Regions from separate parts of the Homo sapiens genome. Here regions 1, 2, 3, 4, 6 and 7 are each linked to region 5. The links are contacts of gene promoters, found by promoter capture Hi-C in human tissues and cell types (Jung and others, 2019). All regions are on one chromosome and are shown on one strand. Each heading gives the region's core, a stretch centred on a gene start or on the middle of the fragment in contact. The rest is flanking DNA. Distances are from core to core; before and after follow the strand shown. Region 1 has its middle 12 kb from the start of EIF1AD. Region 2 overlaps PACS1 (phosphofurin acidic cluster sorting protein 1). Region 3 overlaps POLA2 (DNA polymerase alpha 2, accessory subunit). Region 4 holds the start of PACS1 (phosphofurin acidic cluster sorting protein 1). Region 5 holds the start of RELA (RELA proto-oncogene, NF-kB subunit). Region 6 holds the start of C11orf68 (chromosome 11 open reading frame 68). Region 7 overlaps GAL3ST3 (galactose-3-O-sulfotransferase 3).

Region 1 (2,906 bases), core at 100-2,599, 330 kb before region 5:
CCTCCGCCTCCCGGGTTCAAGTGATTCTCCTGCCTCAGCCTCCCGAATAGCTGGGATTACAGGTATGTGCCACCATGGCCGGCTAATTTTTGTATTTTTAGTAGAGATGGGGTTTCACCATGTTGGCCAGGCTGGTCTCAAACTCCCGATCTCAGGTGATCTGCCCACCGCAGCCTCCCAAATTGCTGGGGTTACAGGCGTGAGCCACCACACCCAGCCCCCATATTTTCTCATGTTTGCTATGGCTTCAAACTTACTGGCGCAAAGTTATTTGTATGATTGCCTTATGTTTGTAATCTTGGCTGTATCCAAAGTTATGTCCCCCTTTTTACATGTAATATTGTTTATTTGTGCCTTCTCTCTGTTATAGCTGGTCAATCTTGGCAGAAGGTCATTATTAGTCTTTTCTAAGCACCAGCTTTTTGTTGTCATTCTTTGTATTGGTATTTCATTAATTGCTGCTCTTACCGTATTTCCCACTTATACTCCCTTTGTTTTTGTTTGTTTTTGTTTTTTTCTCATAACCAATGGGAAACAAACCAATCCCTCTGGGTTTATCCTGTAGTTCTTTTTCTTTTTCCTTTCTTTGTTTTGTTTTGTTTTGTTTTGTTTCTGAGATGGAGTCTTGCTCTGTCACCCAGGCTGGAGTGCAGTGGTGCAATCTCAGCTCACTGCAACCTGTGCCTCACAGGTTCAAGCCATTCTTCTGCCTCAGCCTCCTGAGTAGCTGGGATTACAGGCGCCCACCACCACGCCTGGCTAATTTTTATATTTTAGTAGAGACGGGGTTTCAGCATGTTGACCAGGCTGGTCTCGAACTCCTGACCTCAGGTGATCCACCCGCCTCGGCCTCCCAAAATGCTGGGATTACAGGCGTAAGCCACTGAGTCTGGCCTATATTTAAACATTTTGGCTGGGCATGGTGGCACATGCCTGTAATCCCAGCTACTTGAAAGGCTGAAGGGAAAGGATTGCTTAAGCCCTTGAGGAGTTTGAGGCCAGCCTGGGTGACATAGTGAGACTCCCTTTCAATAAAAAATTAAAAGTCAAGAATAATTAAATATTTGGTTGGTTATTTTTAATAATGTGAGCAGCTTCAAACCCACCACCATAAAATAAAGGCTAGGACTTTAACAATAACCCAAGTAACATACTCCACCTCCCATCCTACCCTGACCAGCCCATTCTCTGCTGTCCCACCCAAGGCAACCATTGTCCGAATTCCATGTGCACTTTTTTTCTTTTTACATGGTTTGCTTTATTTTTATTTATTTTTATTTATTTATTTATTTACTTACTTACTTACTTTTTGAGATGGAGTCTCGCTCTTGTCGCCCAGGCTGGAGTGCAATTGTACGATCTCAGCCCACTGCAACCTCCGCATCCAGGGTTCAAGCAATTCTCCTGCCTCAGCCTCCCGAGTAGCTGGGATTACAGGCCTGCACCACCACACCCAGCTAATTTTTTTTGTATTTTTAGTAGAGATGGGATTTCACCATGTTGGCCAGGCTGGTCTCGAACTCCTGCCCTCAGGTGATCCACCCGCCTTGGCCTCCCACAGTGCTGGGATGACAGGTGGTGAGCCACCGTGCCCGGCCTGGTGCTTCGTCTTTAGTAGTTGCCCAGTTGTCTCCCAGGAAAGTGACTTGGGCCACAGAACCGTGGGTTTTGTCTTCATTCAAGGCCCAAACATCTCTACTGACCTGTGTCTGAGAAGCACACAGAGAAGTGTGGGCAGTTTCCTCAGTGGGAGCCGCCCTCAGAAAATCACTGATGAAGCAAGAAGTCAGGACACCACGGACACCACCAGCAGTTCATGCTGTGCGTGTGTTTGATCCACTGGTGACATTTGCAAGAGAATCCAAAAGCCCCTGTGGGAGGTGTGGAGGCATGCCGTATGCCTCATCTGGTGACACTGAGGAATGAAGAATTAGCAGTACAGGCTGGGCGCGGTAGCTCACGCTTGTAATCCCAGCACTTTGGGAGGCCAAGGCAGGTGGATCACCTGAGATCAGGAGTTCGAGACCAGCCCGGCCAACTGGTGAAACCCTGTCTCTACTAAAAAAATACAAAAATTAGCTGGGTGTGGTGGTGCACGCCTGTCATCCCAGCTACTTGGGAGGCTGAGATAGGAGAATCGCTTGAACCCAGGAGGGGAGGCAGAGGTTGCAGTGAGCCGAGATGGCGCCACTGTACTCCGGCCTGGGCAAGAGCAAGACTCCAACCAAAAAAAAAAAAAAAAAGAACTAGCAGTGCCCAGGGCTGTACACCAGGTGCCAGTACTGGCAGCAATTCTTCCAGTTATTGTGATAGATTCTCATGACGCTAAAATACCCACTTTGTTATTTAACCCTTGCTAATCCACAATGAGTTGCCAAGTACCAGAATCCTTTGTTACTAACCAGACCAGGCTGTTCATTCTTGAACAGCATTGGGCATCACTTTGTTTTAATAATTCTTGTATGAGAAGAGCACTCTTTTCCTTCTGATAGCAATGTGGCTCCAACTACTGGCTGATGTGAGACGGTACCGGCAGTTCCTGGCTGTGTATTCTGCCAACATTTAGAGAAGCCACCAGCAGAGGTCACCCTAAGCACGTAAAACCAGCAAGTCAGCACCTTGCCTTGGGCTACAGAACCCGAAAGCATCTAACCTAGTTACAGTCTCATAAGGGAACTGCATTCTTGGTCCAATCAAAGGGTCCACATGCCCCAACAGCAGTTAGGATGCTGGTAGACCACTGCGAACACAAGTTCCACTCCCCCAGAGATGGATTCACTCACCAAGGCATGATCAGAAGTGGCCTTCCTCCCCAGCAGCATTTACAAGCTGGAGTACAGTGCTTGGAGGGTGGTGGGGAACTGCCCTGGTTTTTTTGTTTTTTGGGGGACCCAGTTTCACTTTTC
Region 2 (3,306 bases), core at 708-3,207, 460 kb before region 5:
TAAGGAAAACAAGACCCAGTTTTCTGGTTCCACTGGGATTTACTTGTTCAGGGATTACCTGTCTGCCAGTTGTGAACCTGTTGTGACTAACACAAGCGTGTTTCAGAACAAGGAAACACCCTGATTACTGGAAGTCAAGGGCAAAGTAAAGCCCAAAACAAGGAACTCTCACTTTCCGTCTGGTGTGTTCCCCAGCAGGCCACTGCCTCTGTCTCTAACCAGAGATTACTGTATACAACTATGAAACCACTGGTGATAGAAATCAGAAAATAGAGCATGAGAAGCAAAATCCCACTAGTAATGTCGAACACTAACACATAAAGTGGACTACTGAAGCAAATACCTAAAAGCTAAGTATTAGAGTTGCCCACATTTTTTTTTTTTTTTTTTTGAGGCAGAGTCTTGCTCTGTCACCCAGGCTAGAGTGCAATGGTACAATCTCGGCTCACTGTAACCTCTGCTCCCTGGACTCAAGCAATTCTCCTGCCTCAGCCTCCCGAGTAGCTGGGATTACAGGCATGCGCCGCCATGCATGACTAATTTTTGTATTTTTAGTAGAGACGAGGTTTCACCATGTTGGCCAGGCTGGTCTTGAACTCCCGACCTCAAGTAATCTGCCTGCCTCGGCCTCCCAAAGTGCTGGGATTACAGGCATGAGCCACCATGCCCGGCCTGCCCAGATATTTTAAACAGGACTGATTTTCTTCAATTACTTGAATACCTGAATTATCCCAGTTTTCTATTTTATTTTATCTACACAGGCATAGTTAGACACTGGTTAGAGTAAGACTAGAGGCAAAAGACACCCCTGGTTACTCTACTTGAATCTGTGAGTAATGTGTATTTTCATACACTTTGAATTATTTAACATGACTTAGCTCTCTGACCCTGGAAAATCACTCTGAATCCAGAACATCTTCAAAATAGAGGATGGAATAAAATTGCTTCTAAGATCCTTTTGACTTACTTGGTTTATATCTTCTTTACTATGGGATCAAATCCCATTAAACAGCAAGTCAGTGGCTCAAAATATTTCAAATACTAGAACTTCATTGTAGCAAATGATGCTAAAAGTAGAAATTTAATTGCAATAAGATTTGGTCTACGCATTAATTGATGTGGTACTTTAATTTTTTATTTCCGTAGGTTTTTGAGATTTTGGTGCACCCAACACCCAAGCAGTATACACTGTACCCAATTTGCAGTATTTTATCCCTCACCTGCCTCCTGCCCTTTCACCCGAGTCCCCAAAGTCCATTGTATCATTCTTATGCCTCTGCATCCTCATAGCTTAGCCCCTAGATGCTGTATTTTTAAAAAGAATTTATTGTTCACCAATGTTCATAGCAGCATTATTCACAATGGACAAAAGGTGGAAGCCACCCAAATGTTCATCAATAAAGAGACAGACATGGAAAGAAACAGTTCCTCCTCCTCAATGGGATGTTCTGGTGTCTCCCTGTGGCACCTGGAACTGCGACAGGCCACCTGAGACCATGGGGAGCCAGCGGGCAAGCCTGTACTGAGGATGACAAAGCAGGAGGGCAAAATGAACTTGGCTCCTTGATGCCTTTGCCAGGCTGCTCAGTTAACCAGCACTGGACTCACCCTTGCCCCAGACTTTTGTTTTCTGAAATGATAAACATCTGTGTGTTTAAGTCATTGAGCTGGCTTTTCTGTTTCTTGAAGGTGAAAGCATTCTAACTGATGACACACACTGACCTAAGATGTCTGACACACCATGAGACTTATGCAGTAATGAAAGGCAGAGTTTGATCTCCATAATTAACAAACTCACTGAAAGGCAAAATACACCGTTCTTGTCATTAAAATGCAAGAAAGGCTTCAGAGCAGGTAAAGAACAAGGTTAAAGTGCAGTAAGCAGATCCATACATTTAGCCATTCAATACATAAACGTGGACCCAGAAGTTATCCTGAATGAACCAATTATGCCCCACTTCAGAAATATTAGAAGATGATGACTTAAAATACTGTCTTTATGATCACAACAACCCTAACTATATAACTCTAGGTTATATTATTCCCATTTTATAGATGAAGACACTGAAGCAGAGAAGAAGCTGAGTAACTTGCCCAAAGCCATTATGTCCACAGTTTTCTCTGCCTGGAACTCTTCCTTCTCTTCACTTAGCTAATTCCCACACATCCTTCAGGTTTCAACTTAAGCAATCACTCCTTAGGAAAAAGGCTTCTTTTATGTGTTCAGACAAGGTCCAGAGCTCCTATTATGCTCCACTGCACTCCTGTTCTATGGCAGCATTTTGCACACTTGAGATTAAATATTTGTCTTCCCACTAGAATGCCCATGGCCTGAAACAGTTCCGTCTTTTTTACAACTAGACGGTATTGCCAAAGCTGCGCAGAATGCCTGCCCTTGACAGTCTCACAGTCTGATAGCGAGACAGCAAGTAAACAGTTCCTTGGAGATATTGTGGCTTTAGTTCCAGACCACTGCAATAACGCAAGTGACATGAAATTATTTATTTCCCGGTGCATATAAAAGTTATGTTTACACTATACAGTAGTCTATCAACTGTGCAATAGCATTGTCTTAAAAAAAAAAAAAGTATATACTTTAATTTAAAAATGGGCTGGGTGCGGTGGCTCACGCCTGTAATCCCAGCACTTTGGGAGGCTGAGGTGGGTGGATCACGAGGTCAGGAGATCGAGATCATCCTGGCTAACACGGTGAAACCCCACCTCTACTAAAAACAACAAAAATTAGCCGGGCGCGGTGGCAGGTGCCTATAGTCCCAGCTACTTGGGAGGCTGAGGCAGGAGAATGGCATGAACCCGGTAGGTGGAGCTTGCAGTGAGCCGAGATCACGCCACAGCACTCTAGCCTGGGCGACAGAGCGAAACTCTGTCCCAAAAAAATAAATAAATAAATAAAATAAAAAAATAAAAATGGCTTATTGAGCCAGGCGTGGTGGCTCACGCCTATAATCCCAGCATTTTGGGAGGCCGAGGCAGGTGGATCACCTTAGGTCAGGAGTTCAAGACTAGCCTGGCCAACATGGCAAAACCCTGTCTCTACTAAAAATACAAAAATTAGCTGGACATGGTGGCACGTGCCTATAATCCTAGCTACTTGGGAGGCTGAGACAGGAGAATTGCTTGAACCCAGAAGGCGGAGGTTGCAGTGAGCCAAGACCATGCTACTGCACTCTAGCCCGGGCAACCAAGCAAGACTCCGTCTCATTAAAAAAAAAAAAAAAAAGCTAACAATTTTCTGAGCCCTCTGCAAGTTGCAATCTTTCTCCTGGTGGAGGGTCTTGCCTCAAT
Region 3 (2,976 bases), core at 1-2,500, 380 kb after region 5:
CGCATCTGCCCATGCTGCATGTAAATAAATTCTTTTTGAAATCGTACATCTTTTCCTTTCCAAGGCAACCTTCAAAAATACCTGTTAAACATTAGTCTTTAAACAACATGCTTCATGTAGGCAGAACTCAGGCGACAGCACGACCAACGCTCACTGGGCTCAGACCAGGGGTCTTGTGACAAAAAACCTACGAACTCATGATGGTGGCGCCCTCACTGCTTGGTCACATTGCTCTTCAGCAGCTTCTGCAGCTTTCTTGGGCTTGGGAAACTGCACTCCTGGACTCATGTCTACCATCCTCATTGTTGGCAAAACAATATTTGAACCGAAACTCACCTGCATCCTCTTCAGTGGGCTGATAAAATGGAAGTGGCACACCCTAAAAACAGGGGAAAAGCTCAAGTAAGGTCTTGCGCCAGGCATCACCTTGGTAAGGAAAGGGGAGGGCACCAGGTTGGGGGTGGTGCAGGTGTGTGATGGGAGGACAGTGGGGAGGAGCGAGAGGGCAGGGGAAGGATGTGCCTCTGTCTTGCTCCCTGGATCTGATGGGACCTGCCATTTTTCTATACTGCTCAGAGGGCAAAGAAACCCAGGTAATGGGAGGTCACTACTCAATTGTCATAAAATACCCAGCAACAAGTGGGAGCAAAACAGGTGCCTAAAGTATCAGTGTACTTCTAGGCAAGGATGGGAGAGAATGGTTTCTTGCTACTTTTCCTGGCATTCTACGAAAATCTCTGGAGGATTGTTGCCTAGAGCAGGGATAGGTAACCTTTCGGCCTCTGGGCCAAATTTGGCTGCAGCCCACTATTTAAATAAAGTTTTATGGGAACACAGCCACAGTCATCTGTTTAAGAGTCCTCTATGGCTGCTTTTGTAGACAAAGGCAGAATTGAGTCATTGTGACAGAGACCATATAGCTACAAAGTCTAAAAGAGTTACTGTCTGGCCCTTTATAGAAAGGGTTTGCTGACCCCTGGCCTAGGGGTGGGTTCCCACTTACAGATGGAGAACTGACTAACAAATAAATGGGCTCCTAAAAAGGACCAGTTTCTAGAACAGACAGCTTCCAGACATACTTTGTCTGAAGCAAACCAAGAGGCAAGTGGGGGTACTGCTGTGTACCTCGTAGAGTTTGGTGGCAACAAGTTTCCTACCAGTGGTGTTGATTCCTTCCATAATTACAACCTGAAAGACAAAAACAAACAGGATTGCTAAGCAGTGGAGATCAATGAGGTCTGGAATACATTATTTTGAGGCAGTTAAAAGCATTGTCCAACTACTCTCATTCTGTAATCATAAACTTAGGGCATTTTTGTAGAAAACGAATTAAGGGCGTTGCATTAGTAATAATAATTATGCTCTATATAAGTGATCTAATTTTCACAACAATCCTATGAGGTAAGAATTATTATTTCCATTTTGTGAGTGAAGAAACTGTAGTTTAGATGGTTAAGTACCTTGTGCACAGTCATGCACCTCATGGAGCGGGGAGTTGGGATTTGAGGCTGCGCAGTCAGGTCCCAGAGCCTGGGTCAGAGCATGGGGGAAACAGGAATCCCAACAGTGGTGTCTGCTCTGGGGCATGTGCTCCAGCTGCACCCCATGGCAGCAGAGACAGGAACTGAGGAGCAGCTGCGCATGGCACAGCACCTACACTACAGGGGTAAAGAGTGCGCCTGCATTCTGGTGGAACTCCTCCAATCTCACCTGTCCAGGAAACAGAGAATATTCCTTAAGCTCAGATAAATCCACTGGAATTTGAGCACCCGAGGAATGTTCCCGGTCTCCCTCGAGAATCACTGACTTGTTGTTCAGCTTCCCGTTGCTATCACAGCCAATCTGGCCCAGCAGAGTGACAGGCTCCTACCAAAGGAAGGTCACAGCATAAGAATGACAGTCTTTGGAGCAGGAGCTCAAAATCTGAAGTCGATAGGGTGAATAGCAAAACAAACTGCAAACAACAAATACATTTCTTGGCAGGGCATTGCTTTGACCCTGAGGTGACTACCGCGTCATCACTGACTCTCAGGATGGAAGAACTCTGAAAGGGCATCTTGTCCACCCATCCACCCAGCACTTGAGCCTTCCTAGGAGGCTGCCTAAGTGTGAGCATCTCTAGTGTAGGGGAACTTGCCCCTGGATGCCTACCCCACCCTGTCCTCACCACCCCAGGGCAGCCCACTGCATCTTTGGGCAGCTATAACTACTTAATAATAGCTAACATTTCTTGAGCTTACTAAATACCATGCACTGTTCTAAAATGTATTCTTAGGCATTTTATATGTATTAACTCATTTAATCCTTGCAACAACCATCGGGTGGATATTACTGTATCCATTTTACAGATGAGGAAAACAAGCAACAGAAAGGTTAGATAATTTAGTCAAGGTCAAACTGTGGGTGAAGCTTGGGTTTGAAACCAGAAATTTGGCTCTAGAGCCATATCCTTAGCCACATACCATACAACCTCTTAACAGGAAGTTCTTTATTAATTGAGCTAAAATCTCTGTCTCCATGGCTTCCTCTGTTCTGTTCCCACTCTTGGGAGAAAACAGAGGAAGTCTCATCTTTCCCAGTGATTGTGCCTCCCTGCCTTCCCTCAATTACTTCCTTCCAAGTCCTCTAACACTTCCTTCTATGACACAGTTCTGCATCACTTCCCCAACTGATCATTCTTTGAATGTAAACATTGACAAAGGTACTTTAAAGAAACTTCTAGAATATATTTCCCCTTAGATTAGAAAACATTCTAGAGAGAAAGCACTGGTATATATGCCAGATTAAACTATGATATAAAGATACTATTGGCAGCAGTTTGTCTATAACAAGAGACCAAACCAGGGGAGAGACTGTGAGTCATTGTCCAGAGAACAAGATTCTGAAAACCCCACCGTCGCTGCTGTCCTTTTATCTCGATACGTGAATGCTTCTATTTGTGGGAAATCCCCGGGGAGCTACCTGACTCACCACCAA
Region 4 (2,931 bases), core at 124-2,623, 410 kb before region 5:
CTGTAAGACACAGCACCCTGTCCCCAGAGTTGGAGACAGACTGCCTTGCCAATACAAAAACAGAAAATATTCCCAAACTCAGGCCTATTTTGCCAATGGAAGGAAAGTCCCCAGATGGTTCCAACAGACAGAGAGCAATGGATTGAATTTAGGAACAAGGCAGTAATTTCATACAGCCCTGCAGAGCTGGGAGATTCTGGGACCAGTTTTAGTGGGGGAGGGGAGGTAAAAATACACTTGAGGACACATTAAATAGGGCCCCAAAACTAAGAGCCTAGCGCTTGGGACAGAACGTGTGTAATATGAAGTTCAAATGAACATGTGTGCCGAAGGCTAATGAGAAGCCCCTAGGGTGATTATATGAGCTTTACCTGCAAGAGGTGACAATCGAGTTTGGCACATGCTGAGTCTATTGGGAAATAATAATATCAAGAGATCTATACCACATCCATGTATGTACAGCTCCCGGCGCCGGCGAGGCAGGAGAGTGACTTACTCAGGGAAACTGACTGCCAGGAAGGCCGGATTCGGTCAGCCCAATCGGAGAAAGCCCGGGGCCGAGGCCAGAAGGTCCCTCGGGGAGGACAGAAGGGTGGTCCCGGCCCCAGGCAGAAGGTGGGGCTGCCAGGAGAGGGCGGGTCCCCGTGGCAGGAGTCCCGGGAGGCCTGGCTGGAGCCAGGCCGGGCCGCGGGACAGTCGGGGAGATGGAGGGCGGGGACCCCATGGGCGCTGGGGCGGGGAGGGCTGGGCCCCGGCGGCCACCCCGCTCCCCCGGCGCCCCGCCGCACCCTCCCGCGCTCACCTAGGCACGCAGCTGGACGAGCTCCGGTCCACCTCCCAGGTGGCGTACAGGTTCATCTGCACCGGGGCGGGGGTGCGGCCTGGCCCCGGGCCACCGGGAGGCGCGGAGCCCGAGGCCACCGCCACGGCCATGGAGGTGGAGGTAGACGAGGACGAGGAGGAGGCAGCCGCCGCCGAGGTGGACGAGGACGACGAGGTGGCCTGGGCCAGCTTGGGGGGCGTCGGCTGCTGCGGCGGCTGCTGCTGCTGCTGCTGCGGCGGCGGCTGCTGAGGGGACTGGGCGACCCCGGATCCCCGCTGGCCGCTGCCGCCCCCGGCGCCTCCGGGACCACCGCCCGCCCCTCCGCGTTCCGCCATGGCCCGGCTAGGCGGGGGTTACGGAGGCCGAGGCGACGCCGATCTGGCTCCCAGGCTTCCCCCGCGGCGGCGGCGGCGGGGGCGCGGCAGCCTCCTCAGCCCGCCTGCCCGAGCGCGAGCAGCCAGCGAGCTGCACGCACGCGCGGGGCCTCTGGGCGCGCGGGCCTCGCGCTCGACCGCCGCTGCCTGTTGCGGCTCGCGAGGCCGACACGGGTGGGCGTGTCCGGGAGGGGGCGGGGAGCCCGGCCCGCGCGGCCCCACCCAGCGCGGAGGGGCCGGGCCGGGCGCGCTCGCGCCCTGCGTGCAGCCACGCGCGCCCCTCGCTCCCGCGGAGTAGAAGGGGTGGTCTGTGGCCAGCGCGCGCCCACGGGTCCTGCCCTCAAATCCGCTGCCAGTCTGCCCCCGCTCCTCCCCTCCCCGCCCACGGCCGGCCGCGGCCCCGCCAGCGGAAACCCGGCTTTTCCGGGATTCGGTCCCTGCAGGGAGGGGGCCGCCGCGGGAGCGCGCCTCGGCCCCTCGGGTCTTCGGAGCCAATGCGGAACCCGCCCCCAGCGGTGGGGGTCTGCCCGGGGAAGCCGGCTCTCCGCCTGCCGACCTAGCCCTGCCCTGCGGCCCCGGCAAACAGAGAGGTCGGCGGAGACCCGGGGCCCGCTGCCACCGCGGGTGCCTGTGATCCGGGAAGTTCCCGCCCCGAGGGCAAGCGGGGGCTCAGGGACCTGGAGTCCAGAAGGTTCTTCGCATAAGTGAATTCTCAAGCTACCCCGGGGCCCATCTGGAGCCAACCTTCCTCTTCTTTCCCTACCCCCCAAATGCCTCTTTAGAGTGCCAGTGCTTTGTTGCTTACCAAATTTCTAAAATTCCATTCCTCCTAAGGCCTAGCTCAGCTGCCACGTCCTATCTGGATCATGCCCCCCACAACCCCGAGACCATCTTGAACCCTCCGGCAAGTGAGCGCCTCCACTGGTGCACTTAAACACCAACAGTAGTACAACAGCAGCGCATGACTACCCTCCCCACAGGCTGGCAAATGCCCATGGGAGCCAGTGATCCAGCCTGCTCTAGTCTGTCAGAAAGGCTGCTCAGGACCAGATTACAACCTGGAGAAAGTAAGTCCCCCCATCCCACATACAAATCCCAAACCCCAGCGACTAGTGTTGCTTGAACCCAAGGGTTCATATGGACTCAAGACAATTTAGCTTTTGAGCTATGTTGTCGCACAGGTAAGGACTTGAACTTCTGGTCACAAGGTCAGTTGGGAAGGCCTGCCCTGGCCTACTTCCCAAGCCCACTGTTACTTCCTCTGCCGCGCTAGGGCGCTAATCTGGCTATTTTTACTCCCCAAGGACAAAGTAGTAAGGTCAAACCAGACCTAGAGGTACTTCCCCCAAGCCTTCCTACAAAGCAGGGCAGTGGTGAAACACAGATTTCAGCCTGGGGTTGGCGTCACCACCAGTCAAATGCGCCGTCTAATCCCAGTTTATGTTCGTGGTTACTGGGGCAGCCCAGTGATTGTAGAAAGAGACTATTTTAGTCCTTTTGCAAGAAGGGGCTAAAAGGAGATGAGGGAGGCTCAGGAGTGTTAAATATTCATCTCTTTCCTTGGGAAACAGCTTTATTTACAAAACAGGTCTAAAATAAGAACATGAAATGACAAGTCCTTGGGAACTGCGGGAGAGGTGGTTCTTGTGTGAAGCCCAGGCATCCAGACGTAGGGCCAAAAAAAGGGCTAGTGTGAGGGGACCTAAAACTTGAACTCCTTATATTTCTTGCTGC
Region 5 (3,274 bases), core at 1-2,500:
GTCACCTGAAGTCGGCCTCCCCCGCCCCCTGCCAAAAGTAAACACTTTTCTAATCAGGGCCAGCCACTGGAGAAACTGAAATGAGTGGGCGGGGTGCTAACTCTATTTTCACTTTTCTCTTCCTGTTTCTTCAGAGCCTGGGAAACAAGTCAGAATTTCCAATCTTTTCCAATTCCCACATGATTTCCTAATTTAAGACGAATTCAGAGAAAATAAAAAAGTCTTTCTCCATCTGGAGAAGACTCCGCCCCCTGCAGTGGAGCATCCTCCTTTGGGGATGAGGCCTGGGGTGGGGGTGCGTCAGCCCCAGCCTCCACACGGACGCGCCTTGGGCTTGGTCTTGGGGGAGCTACCTGCACTGTGGGGTCACATGACAGAATTAGTGGTCAGCCCTAGCTGGAGGTCCAGGGCAAACACAGGCGGGGGCAGGGGGGTGGGGGGTCGTGAGCCTGCTGATTCAAGTGTCCCTGTGGGTCCCGCACCTTCTGAGACACAAGCGCCAGGCTTCAGAGACGAGGCTCCGGGATTTACCCCTGGGGGCCTCCTGCTCCCACAGCCGATGAGAGCCGGCAGTTTGGCTGTATCGTAAGCTGGCGCTTTAGCTGGAGAGGGACGAGCCCTCGGCCAGCTCGCCAGCGGGAGGGCCTCAGTCGTCCCATCCGGGCTGTAGGCTCCGCAAAGCTCTTGATGCACTGTCAGGCTGGGAGGTCCGGCCGCTCCCATTCCCCCACAGCCGCATCTAGATTGGGGTGGGTAGGACATTTTAACGTGCTTCTGAGACAGCCACCACCGAAAGGCACCTTTAGCGGTTAGGAAACCCGCGCGGAGTTCAACCACCCGGCCTCTGCGGAGCAGAAGGCCCGGTCGGGCTTTTCCCTGCGCGGGGCGGGCGGCCGCAGCCCAGTAGCCCTGGCTTTGCTCCAGACCCGGCCCAGAGTGACATCACCAAACTCCGCCGATCGGCGGGAGGGGGCCCTGAAATCCCCTAAAAACAAAGTGAGTAATCGGCGGACCCACCCTCCAGGCGGGGCCGGGACCCGGGAGCTAGCCGAGCCACCGGGCACGCCAGCCTCTTCGTCCTCGGCGAGGCGCGCACTTGGCCCCGACCCCCGGCAGCGGCTGTGCGTGCAGCCTCTTCGTCCTCCGCGCGGCGTGCACTTGCTCCCGGCCCCTGCGCCGGGCGGCGGCGGGGCAGCGCGCAGGCGCGGCCGGATTCCGGGCAGTGACGCGACGGCGGGCCGCGCGGCGCATTTCCGCCTCTGGCGAATGGCTCGTCTGTAGTGCACGCCGCGGGCCCAGCTGCGACCCCGGCCCCGCCCCCGGGACCCCGGCCATGGACGGTGAGGTCGCCCTCTGACCCCGCGGGGTGGCATCGCCGGGGCCGCCGCGGCTGTGGCGGGAGCCCCCGCGCCGCTTTCCGCCCCTTCCTGCGCCGACGGGCGCTGCGCAGGGAGCGGTCGGCCTGCCGGATGGTGGCGCGGGGCGGGGCAGGCGGGGAGGGGTCTGACTCAGTTTCCCCTCTGGGTGGAGGGGGTGGCCCTTGACTCAGCATCCTCCCTGGGTGGGGGAGCAGAGGGAACCTTGACTCAGTTTCCCTCCACACCGTCCATGGGGGCAGCTCTGGCTTCGTTTCCCTATTAGGGGAGAACGCATCTGATTCAGTTTCCTCTCTGGAGGGAGGTGGGGCGTGCCCTCCCTCAATTTTCCTTAAGAAAGTACAACAGGCCCTGATTCAGCTTCCCTCTGGAGAAGAAGGATTCCTTACCCCGTTTTCCCTCAAGAAGCAGGTGTTTCTGGTTCCTTTCCTCCACCCCTTAGTTTCACCGCAGGTTCTAGGGAGCAGGTCCTGACTCAGTTCCCCTGGGAGGGAGCCTGGCTTCTCCTCTCCGTGGAGAGCAGATTCCTCCTTGTGAGAATGGGCATTGGGTGTGTGCTGACCCTGATCTCCCTCCCCTTTCAGAACTGTTCCCCCTCATCTTCCCGGCAGGTAAGTGGCCCCCGCGGCGGTCGGGGAGGTGCTCCCTGGGGTAGGGCAGTGGGGGCAGCCGCCTAATGGGGCTGCGGTGTCCCCTGGCAGAGCCAGCCCAGGCCTCTGGCCCCTATGTGGAGATCATTGAGCAGCCCAAGCAGCGGGGCATGCGCTTCCGCTACAAGTGCGAGGGGCGCTCCGCGGGCAGCATCCCAGGCGAGAGGAGCACAGATACCACCAAGACCCACCCCACCATCAAGGTCAGCACTGCGCCAGGGTGTGCGGGGAAGGGACTGTGGAACCCCAGCCCTCTGTGTTTGGGAGTCAGGTTTGGATGTCTGGGCCTCTGTACTTTGGACAGATCAATGGCTACACAGGACCAGGGACAGTGCGCATCTCCCTGGTCACCAAGGACCCTCCTCACCGGCCTCACCCCCACGAGCTTGTAGGAAAGGACTGCCGGGATGGCTTCTATGAGGCTGAGCTCTGCCCGGACCGCTGCATCCACAGGTGAGGTCCCTGCAGGCTAGGAGGCCCAGCATGAGGGGACAGGAGGCGGGCTATGAAGTAGCCGCTACAGTGTTACTCCTTTCTGGACCCAGGGCAGAATTCCTCACTCCTTGCCCTGACTCAGCTCTGCAAGTAAACTGCCTTTGTCTTGAAATTATCTATTTGTACGTTTACTCTAGCAGATGAGTTCCAGGGGATACGGATGGGTCCCTAATCACTTCTGAATTCCTGACCCCTGTAGCTGGAAGGACAAGTCCCTCAGAGTCACGTCTCTTGTTTGAGGAAGAAAACCATTGAACCAGCACTCTCCCCTGGAGTTGACATTGCAGTTGACAGAGACAGGCTGTAAAAAAATATACAGGCCGGGCATAGTGGCTCATGCTTATAATCCTAGCACTTCGGGAGGCCAAGGCAGGAAGATCTCTTGAGCCTAGGAATTCAAGACTAGCCAAGGCAACATAGTGAGACCCCATGTCTACAAAAAATAAGAAATTAGCTGGGTATGGTGGCATGCGCCTATAGTCCCAGGGAGGCTGAGGTGGGAGGATCGCCTGAGCCCAGGAGGTCACTGCTGCGGCAAGCTATGATTGCACCACTGCACTTGGGTGGCAGGGCGATACCTTGTCTTTTTTTTTTTTTTTTTTTTTTTAAGAAAGAGTCTTGCTCTGTCCCCAGACTGGAGTGCAGTGGCGCGATCTCAGCTCACTGCAACCTCCACCTTCCGGGTTCATGCCATTCTCCTGCCTCAGCTTCCCGAATAGCTGGGACTACAGGTGCCTGCCACCACGCCTGGCT
Region 6 (2,896 bases), core at 68-2,567, 260 kb before region 5:
AAGTCAAACTGCTGCTCCAGCTCGATGCACTGCTTCCTGGAAGAGGTGAGGAGGGGCTGGCACTCAAGAGGGGCCCAGACACCCAAACCCGCAGTGGGTGGCAGCAAGGGGCCCCAGATGTCAGGCTGGAGCCCGGGCCGATCTCCGCTCCCGGGCCTGCCCTGCTTTACTCAGGTGGCTCCCTCTGCCTGGAAGCCCAGCCTCTCCTCTGCCAGTCTGTGGCCTTGCTGGTGTCCCGGCTGCCGCCCACCTCCCTCGCCACCCAGGCTCTGCCTTCCTCAGTGTGTGAACTCCCCGCGCCAAACCCGCCGGCCCCTCCCGGCTCCTCGCCGCTCACAGGTGGGATGTGGTCATGGTCTTCGCGTTCCGCGACTGGGTCACCTGGCAGGCCTTCTTCAACAGCGACTCTAGGAAGAGCTCGAGCGCCCGGGCTGAGGAGCGTCAAGGAGAACTCCGGGGCAGGAGAGGGCGACCCGCTGCCTCCCTCCCCCACGCCCCTCGACCCGGTCCGCCCCCGGCAGGATACAGATGATGACAGGCACCGCCGCCGCCACCTTCCCAATCTCTTCGTCCGTCTGCATGATCTTCTTGATCCGCGCCTGCGGGTGGGGGAGCAGAGTTCAGACCCCGTCGCCACCGTCCCCTAAGGGGGTGCTGGGGGAGGAAGGGGCATCCCCGGAGAAAGGGGGCGGGGGACACGGACGCGGGGAGGGCATGGAGGGGGCGGGGCGTCCAGGCCCCCGAACACCGCGGCGCGCCCGCCTGCCCAGCGGGAACTGGGCCCAAGCCACCCGGGAGCCGGGCCCACTCCTGCCGGGCTCTGCCACGTGCTCACCGGCGGGAACCGCGCGTTGTACTTCTTCTTCTTGCTCGGCATCTCGGGGCCTCTCTCGCCGCGTCGGGTCCAGCGCCGCCGCCCGCAGCCTCCCGGCTCCCGGGCCTGCTCGCCGCCCGCCCGTCGCGGTTCCCCTGGGTCCTGGTGCCGCCCGCTCCGCCCCCGCCGTTTCCCGCGGAGTCCTAGCGCCGCCGGTTAAGACGCCGCTCGCAGGGCCCTAGTGCCCTCCTCTTGAAGCCTCCTGGCCGGTGCGCGTCCCTCCCCAGTCTGGACCGCCGCTCCCGCCCGCCCCCAAGGCCAGAAGAGCGAACGTTGGCCCCGCCCCCCGCGGCCCGCCCCTCCCGGGGTTCCCGCGATGGCCCCGCCCCCGAGTCAGCACCTCCCCGTCGGCCCCGCCCCTTCCCCTGCCGGCCCCGCCCCACAGCGCGGCCGCTGCGGCCGCTGAGGCCCGCGGCTCCGCCCTGTGGCTGCGCCTGTCTATAAAGTTGTTGTTGAGGTGGCGCGGCGCTAAGATGGCGGCGGCGGCGGCGGCGGCCGTGGCGGGGGTGGGGCGCGGTGGCGGTGGCGCGGAGCCACGGCAGGAGCGGAGCCGGGCCCGGGGCTGGGCCGGCGTCGAACGCAGCGAAGGCCGGAGGTGACTGCGGGCGGCGGGAGGGGCAGGGCAGGGCCGGGGCGGGAGCACAGCTCGGGCCCGTGGGCGTTAATGGCGGCGGGCGCGGCACGGCCGGAGCCTGGCTCTCCTGCAGGCTCTAACAAGCCCTGGTTCGAGTCTGGGAACCGCCCCATTGGCCTCGGAACGGCCTGTAACCTCTCTGGACTTCAGCGTCCTCGTCTGTAAGTGGGCCCGATAACGCCTGCCTGGGAGGCCTGGCCTTACAGAGCCGGCCTCGGGAGCTGCGCGAACGTGCGCTTCTTTGCGTTCCTCTATTAAATGCCAGCGCACCGGATACCTGCCAGGAAAAGGGGGCCTTGGCAGGGCCGGGAGGTGTAGCTGGGGCTGGTTGCTCCCACGCCTGGATTCACCCTTCGGCCCTGCCACGCACTGCAGGTGTGACCTTGGGCAAGTCCTTTTTCTCAGCCTCAGTTTCCTTTTCTGTAAGTCAAGGAGAATAGTAATAACTGCAGCAACCCTTCTGGAGCGCTGACTCCTCAGGCATCTAATTTTCATAGCAGATCTACGGGACAGGAACAGTTGTTATCCCATTGTAAAGATGAGGCAACTGAGGCGCATCGACAGTAACTCTTACTCAAGGCCACAGTTTAATCCAGTGCCTGGCATCTGTAGTTATTGTCTCAGACCCTGCCCTGACTCGGTTCCCTCACAGCAGGATGGAACCAGGTGAGGAGCTGGAAGAGGAGGGCTCTCCAGGTGGCCGTGAGGATGGCTTCACCGCCGAGCACCTGGCTGCAGAGGCCATGGCAGCTGACATGGACCCCTGGCTAGTGTTTGATGCCCGCACAACGCCTGCCACTGAGCTGGATGCCTGGCTGGCCAAGTACCCACCATCCCAAGTTACCCGCTATGGGGACCCCGGTTCACCCAACTCAGAGCCTGTGGGCTGGATTGCAGTGTATGGGCAGGGCTACAGCCCCAACTCCGGGGACGTGCAGGGCCTGCAGGCAGCCTGGGAAGCTCTGCAGACCAGTGGGCGGCCCATCACACCGGGTACCCTGCGCCAGCTCGCCATCACCCACCACGTGCTCTCGGGCAAGTGGCTTATGCATCTGGCACCGGGCTTCAAGCTGGACCACGCCTGGGCTGGCATTGCCCGGGCCGTGGTTGAAGGCCAGCTTCAGGTGGCCAAGGTGAGCCCACGTGCCAAGGAGGGTGGGCGCCAGGTCATCTGTGTTTACACGGACGACTTCACGGACCGCTTGGGTGTACTGGAGGCGGATTCAGCCATCCGTGCAGCGGGCATTAAGTGCCTGCTCACCTACAAGCCTGATGTCTACACCTACCTGGGCATCTACCGGGCCAATCGCTGGCACCTCTGCCCCACTCTCTATGAGAGCCGTTTCCAGCTTGGGGGTAGTGCCCGTGGCTCCCGAGTGCTTGACCGT
Region 7 (3,168 bases), core at 589-3,088, 380 kb before region 5:
CCTCTGCCCACTGCAAACCCGTCTGCCTTCTTCTGCCAGGCTTCTCGGGAACACTGGCCCTGCTACCAGAGCCGCAGGATCCCCCATGAGTGCCTGTGAAGGGAGTCCTGGATAGTGAGGCCCTGGCTGGTCCAGGGGTGGGTACTCCGCCATGCCACCCATCCTCCAGCGCCTGCAGCAGGCCACCAAGATGATGAGCCGCCGGAAAATCCTGCTGCTGGTGCTAGGGTGCAGCACCGTAAGCCTTCTCATCCACCAGGGGGCGCAGCTCAGCTGGTAAGGGGGCGGGGCCCCAGGGGGGCCGGAGCTCCCCTCCCCATTCTTCCACCTGCTAGAAGGGTCCTGCTAGGCTTTGCTCCTCCCCTCTATTCTGAAAGTGCTTTCCCTTTAGGGCCACACAGCCTCCCTGGACAGGGACTGCTCTTCAATGAAAGGGCTGAGTGACTTGCTCAAAGTTACAGAATCAGTTAGCTGAGATCCGAATCCAGCTCAACTCCCCACAGCATGCAGCTAAGCATTTCCCCAGTGGAAACAACTTCTCACAACTTCCGTAGTGCTGGGCAAGGCCAAGTCCCCTCACTTCTCCGAGCCCCCGTTTTCTCATCTATAAAGTGAGACATGATATGTGTGACACAGCCAGTCACCCTCACACAGGATACCATGTGATTCATGGGAACCCCAACCCTACTCCTGACTCACTGTGTGAACCCAACAAATCCCTGCACCTCTCGGAGACTTCATGTCCCCATTTTCTACACTGTCTGCCCCTGAGAATGGTGTGAATGCGCCCAGCCCCCCTTGCCAGATAATTTGGTTTGAAATCCCAAACACCCATGTTTTAAGAATGAAGCAACAGAAATGAAAGCTTCACGAGGGCTAGGATTGTTTTTGTATATTACTGTATTTCTTGAACCTAGCATTAACCTGGCACATAGTGGACACCCAAAAAATATTTGATGACTGAATTAATGAGGCTTTAGAAGCCTCAAGAGAAACATAACAATGGGTTGCTGCAAAGCCCAGTGCCAACCATCTACAAAGTGAGGAGCCAGTTAAAGAGTAAAAATGAGAAAGAGCAAAAGGATTTAGTGACCATGTGAGTCGTCTCCAGACTTTGTGTAAGTGATTGTTCTCCTTTTGGCCCTCAGTTTCTACATATACAAAGTGGGATTCCTCAAAGATCTCCAGGGGTCTTTGTCCCTTATTTATTTCTACATAAACAAATTATCTTAAAGCTTAGCAGCTGAAAACACAAACATCTGTTATTTTGGGTCAGGAAGCCAGGTGTGGCTTACTGGGAACTTCTGGACCAAGGTCTTTCATGGGGTTGCAACCAAGGTGTTTGCTGGTGATGCAGTCTCATCCGAAGGCTTGATTGGAAGGGATCAGCTTCCAAGCTCACTCACGTGGTTTTGACAGGCTTCAGGTCTTCAAGCCGGCTGGTGGACTGAGGGCCTTAGGTCCTTGTGGGCTTTTCCCACTTAGTGGTAGCTCCCTATAGGGCTGCCCACTATATGGCAGCTTGCTTCCCCCATCATCTGTCATCCCAGATTGAGTGAAAGACACCAAGATACTAGCCAGCCACAGTCTTTCTATGATGAAATTTAAGAAGTGACATCCCATCATTTCTGCCCTCTTCTCTTCTTTAGATGCAATGATAAGTCCAGCCTAACTCAGGTGAGGGGAATACTCAAGGGCATGAATACCAGGAGGGCAGCAGGGATCATAGAGGGCATCTTAGAGGCTACCAAGCACCGCCCTCGACCTTTCCATGAGTGCAGCCCAGGCGGGGCCGCGCTGTGGGGCATCCCACAGTCCTTGGGTAAGGGCAGGGGTCAAGCGGCAGCCCCCTCACACCCTCCTCTCCGCACACTCCCTGGGCCTGGCAGGTACCCCAAGCTGTTCCCCTTGAGCTGCCCTCCTCTGCGGAACTCGCCGCCGCGCCCCAAGCACATGACTGTGGCCTTCCTGAAGACTCACAAGACGGCAGGCACGACGGTGCAGAACATCCTGTTTCGCTTTGCCGAGCGCCACAACCTGACGGTGGCCCTGCCGCACCCGAGCTGCGAGCACCAGTTCTGCTACCCCCGCAACTTCTCGGCGCACTTCGTGCACCCGGCCACGCGGCCGCCGCACGTGCTGGCCAGCCACCTGCGCTTCGACCGTGCGGAGCTGGAGCGCCTCATGCCGCCCAGCACCGTCTATGTCACCATCCTGCGCGAGCCGGCCGCCATGTTCGAGTCGCTCTTCAGCTACTACAACCAGTACTGCCCGGCCTTCCGGCGCGTACCCAACGCCTCGCTCGAGGCCTTCCTGCGCGCGCCCGAGGCATACTACCGCGCTGGCGAGCACTTCGCCATGTTCGCACACAACACGCTGGCCTACGACCTGGGCGGCGACAATGAGCGCAGCCCGCGCGACGACGCCGCCTACCTGGCGGGCCTCATCCGCCAGGTGGAGGAGGTTTTCTCGCTCGTCATGATCGCCGAGTACTTCGACGAGTCGCTAGTGCTGCTGCGGCGCCTACTGGCCTGGGACCTGGACGACGTGCTCTACGCCAAGCTCAACGCGCGCGCCGCCAGCTCGCGCCTGGCCGCCATCCCCGCGGCGCTGGCGCGGGCGGCGCGCACCTGGAACGCCCTGGACGCCGGCCTCTACGACCACTTCAACGCCACCTTCTGGCGCCACGTGGCGCGCGCGGGCCGCGCGTGCGTGGAGCGCGAGGCGCGCGAGCTGCGCGAGGCCCGCCAGCGCCTACTGCGGCGCTGCTTCGGGGACGAGCCACTGCTGCGGCCTGCCGCGCAGATCCGCACCAAGCAGCTGCAGCCGTGGCAGCCCAGCCGCAAGGTGGACATTATGGGCTATGACCTGCCCGGCGGCGGCGCCGGCCCGGCCACCGAGGCCTGCCTCAAGCTGGCCATGCCCGAGGTCCAGTACTCGAACTACCTGTTGCGCAAGCAGAAGCGCCGGGGCGGTGCGCGGGCTCGGCCCGAGCCCGTCCTGGACAATCCCCCGCCTCGGCCCATCCGAGTGCTGCCTCGCGGCCCTCAAGGTCCCTGAGCTCCGCAGGCCTCCAGGAGTATGGGTCCTGCCCTGCCCTCCCAGGAGTCCAGCCAGGGGCTGCCTCCATGTCCTGCCCCCATGAGAGCCCTTTCTTTTCAAGGGGCT

What was found. Contacts are between HindIII fragments. The study calls those that stand out against the background at their distance.
Region 1: a fragment that was not itself captured here is called in contact with the fragment with the promoter of RELA in region 5 in 4 of the 25 tissues and cell types used here (aorta, dorsolateral prefrontal cortex, heart right ventricle and 1 more).
Region 2: a contact is called between a fragment that was not itself captured here and the fragment with the promoter of RELA in region 5, in 1 of the 25 tissues and cell types used here (hippocampus).
Region 3: a contact is called between a fragment that was not itself captured here and the fragment with the promoter of RELA in region 5, in 1 of the 25 tissues and cell types used here (hippocampus).
Region 4: the fragment with the promoter of PACS1 here is called in contact with the fragment with the promoter of RELA in region 5 in 1 of the 25 tissues and cell types used here (adrenal gland).
Region 6: the fragment with the promoter of C11orf68 here is called in contact with the fragment with the promoter of RELA in region 5 in 1 of the 25 tissues and cell types used here (spleen).
Region 7: a contact is called between a fragment that was not itself captured here and the fragment with the promoter of RELA in region 5, in 2 of the 25 tissues and cell types used here (dorsolateral prefrontal cortex and heart right ventricle).

The regions. Positions count from the first base shown.
Region 1 is chr11:65,988,809-65,991,714 of GRCh38, reverse strand. No RefSeq gene overlaps it. Among named protein-coding and RNA genes, the nearest start is that of EIF1AD, 12 kb to the left of the region's middle. RefSeq lists an enhancer at 2,284-2,353. The HindIII fragment of the contact is 5,676 bases long and covers 1-2,906 here.
Region 2 is chr11:66,123,125-66,126,430 of GRCh38, reverse strand. All of the region lies in intron 1 of PACS1 (phosphofurin acidic cluster sorting protein 1), which reads right to left. Among named protein-coding and RNA genes, the nearest start is that of PACS1, 55 kb to the right of the region's middle. The HindIII fragment of the contact is 8,035 bases long and covers 1-3,306 here.
Region 3 is chr11:65,279,882-65,282,857 of GRCh38, reverse strand. POLA2 (DNA polymerase alpha 2, accessory subunit) reads right to left here. Exons shown (of 18, transcript NM_002689.4): 8 at 1,711-1,866; 9 at 1,126-1,188; 10 at 337-379. Among named protein-coding and RNA genes, the nearest start is that of POLA2, 19 kb to the right of the region's middle. RefSeq lists an enhancer at 2,389-2,976. The HindIII fragment of the contact is 6,666 bases long and covers 1-2,976 here.
Region 4 is chr11:66,068,714-66,071,644 of GRCh38, reverse strand. PACS1 (phosphofurin acidic cluster sorting protein 1) reads right to left here and starts at 1,373. Exons shown (of 24, transcript NM_018026.4): 1 at 803-1,373. The coding sequence starts at 1,158. SF3B2 (splicing factor 3b subunit 2) reads right to left here. Exons shown (of 22, transcript NM_006842.3): 22 at 2,337-2,931. The coding sequence ends at 2,900. RefSeq lists silencers at 429-633, 694-843, 854-983, 1,134-1,183, 1,194-1,813. The HindIII fragment of the contact is 13,254 bases long and covers 1-2,931 here.
Region 5 is chr11:65,660,892-65,664,165 of GRCh38, reverse strand. It overlaps RELA (RELA proto-oncogene, NF-kB subunit), which reads left to right and starts at 1,250. Exons shown (of 11, transcript NM_021975.4): 1 at 1,250-1,340; 2 at 1,961-1,987; 3 at 2,078-2,229; 4 at 2,331-2,479. The coding sequence starts at 1,334. RELA-DT (RELA divergent transcript) reads right to left here and starts at 1,160. Exons shown (of 4, transcript NR_183625.1): 1 at 1,018-1,160. RefSeq lists an enhancer at 744-943 and silencers at 1,034-1,443, 1,504-1,563. The HindIII fragment of the contact is 29,460 bases long and covers 1-3,274 here.
Region 6 is chr11:65,917,483-65,920,378 of GRCh38, reverse strand. It overlaps C11orf68 (chromosome 11 open reading frame 68), which reads left to right and starts at 1,317. Exons shown (of 2, transcript NM_001135635.2): 1 at 1,317-1,469; 2 at 2,161-2,896. The coding sequence starts at 1,348. DRAP1 (DR1 associated protein 1) reads right to left here and starts at 953. Exons shown (of 7, transcript NM_006442.4): 1 at 836-953; 2 at 527-599; 3 at 338-431; 4 at 1-36. The coding sequence starts at 877. RefSeq lists enhancers at 360-1,280, 1,281-2,200 and a silencer at 494-1,563. The HindIII fragment of the contact is 24,812 bases long and covers 1-2,896 here.
Region 7 is chr11:66,042,399-66,045,566 of GRCh38, reverse strand. GAL3ST3 (galactose-3-O-sulfotransferase 3) reads left to right here. Exons shown (of 3, transcript NM_033036.3): 2 at 40-276; 3 at 1,890-3,168. The coding sequence starts at 152. The coding sequence ends at 3,060. Among named protein-coding and RNA genes, the nearest start is that of GAL3ST3, 5.2 kb to the left of the region's middle. RefSeq lists an enhancer at 1-124 and a silencer at 235-284. The HindIII fragment of the contact is 5,576 bases long and covers 1-3,168 here.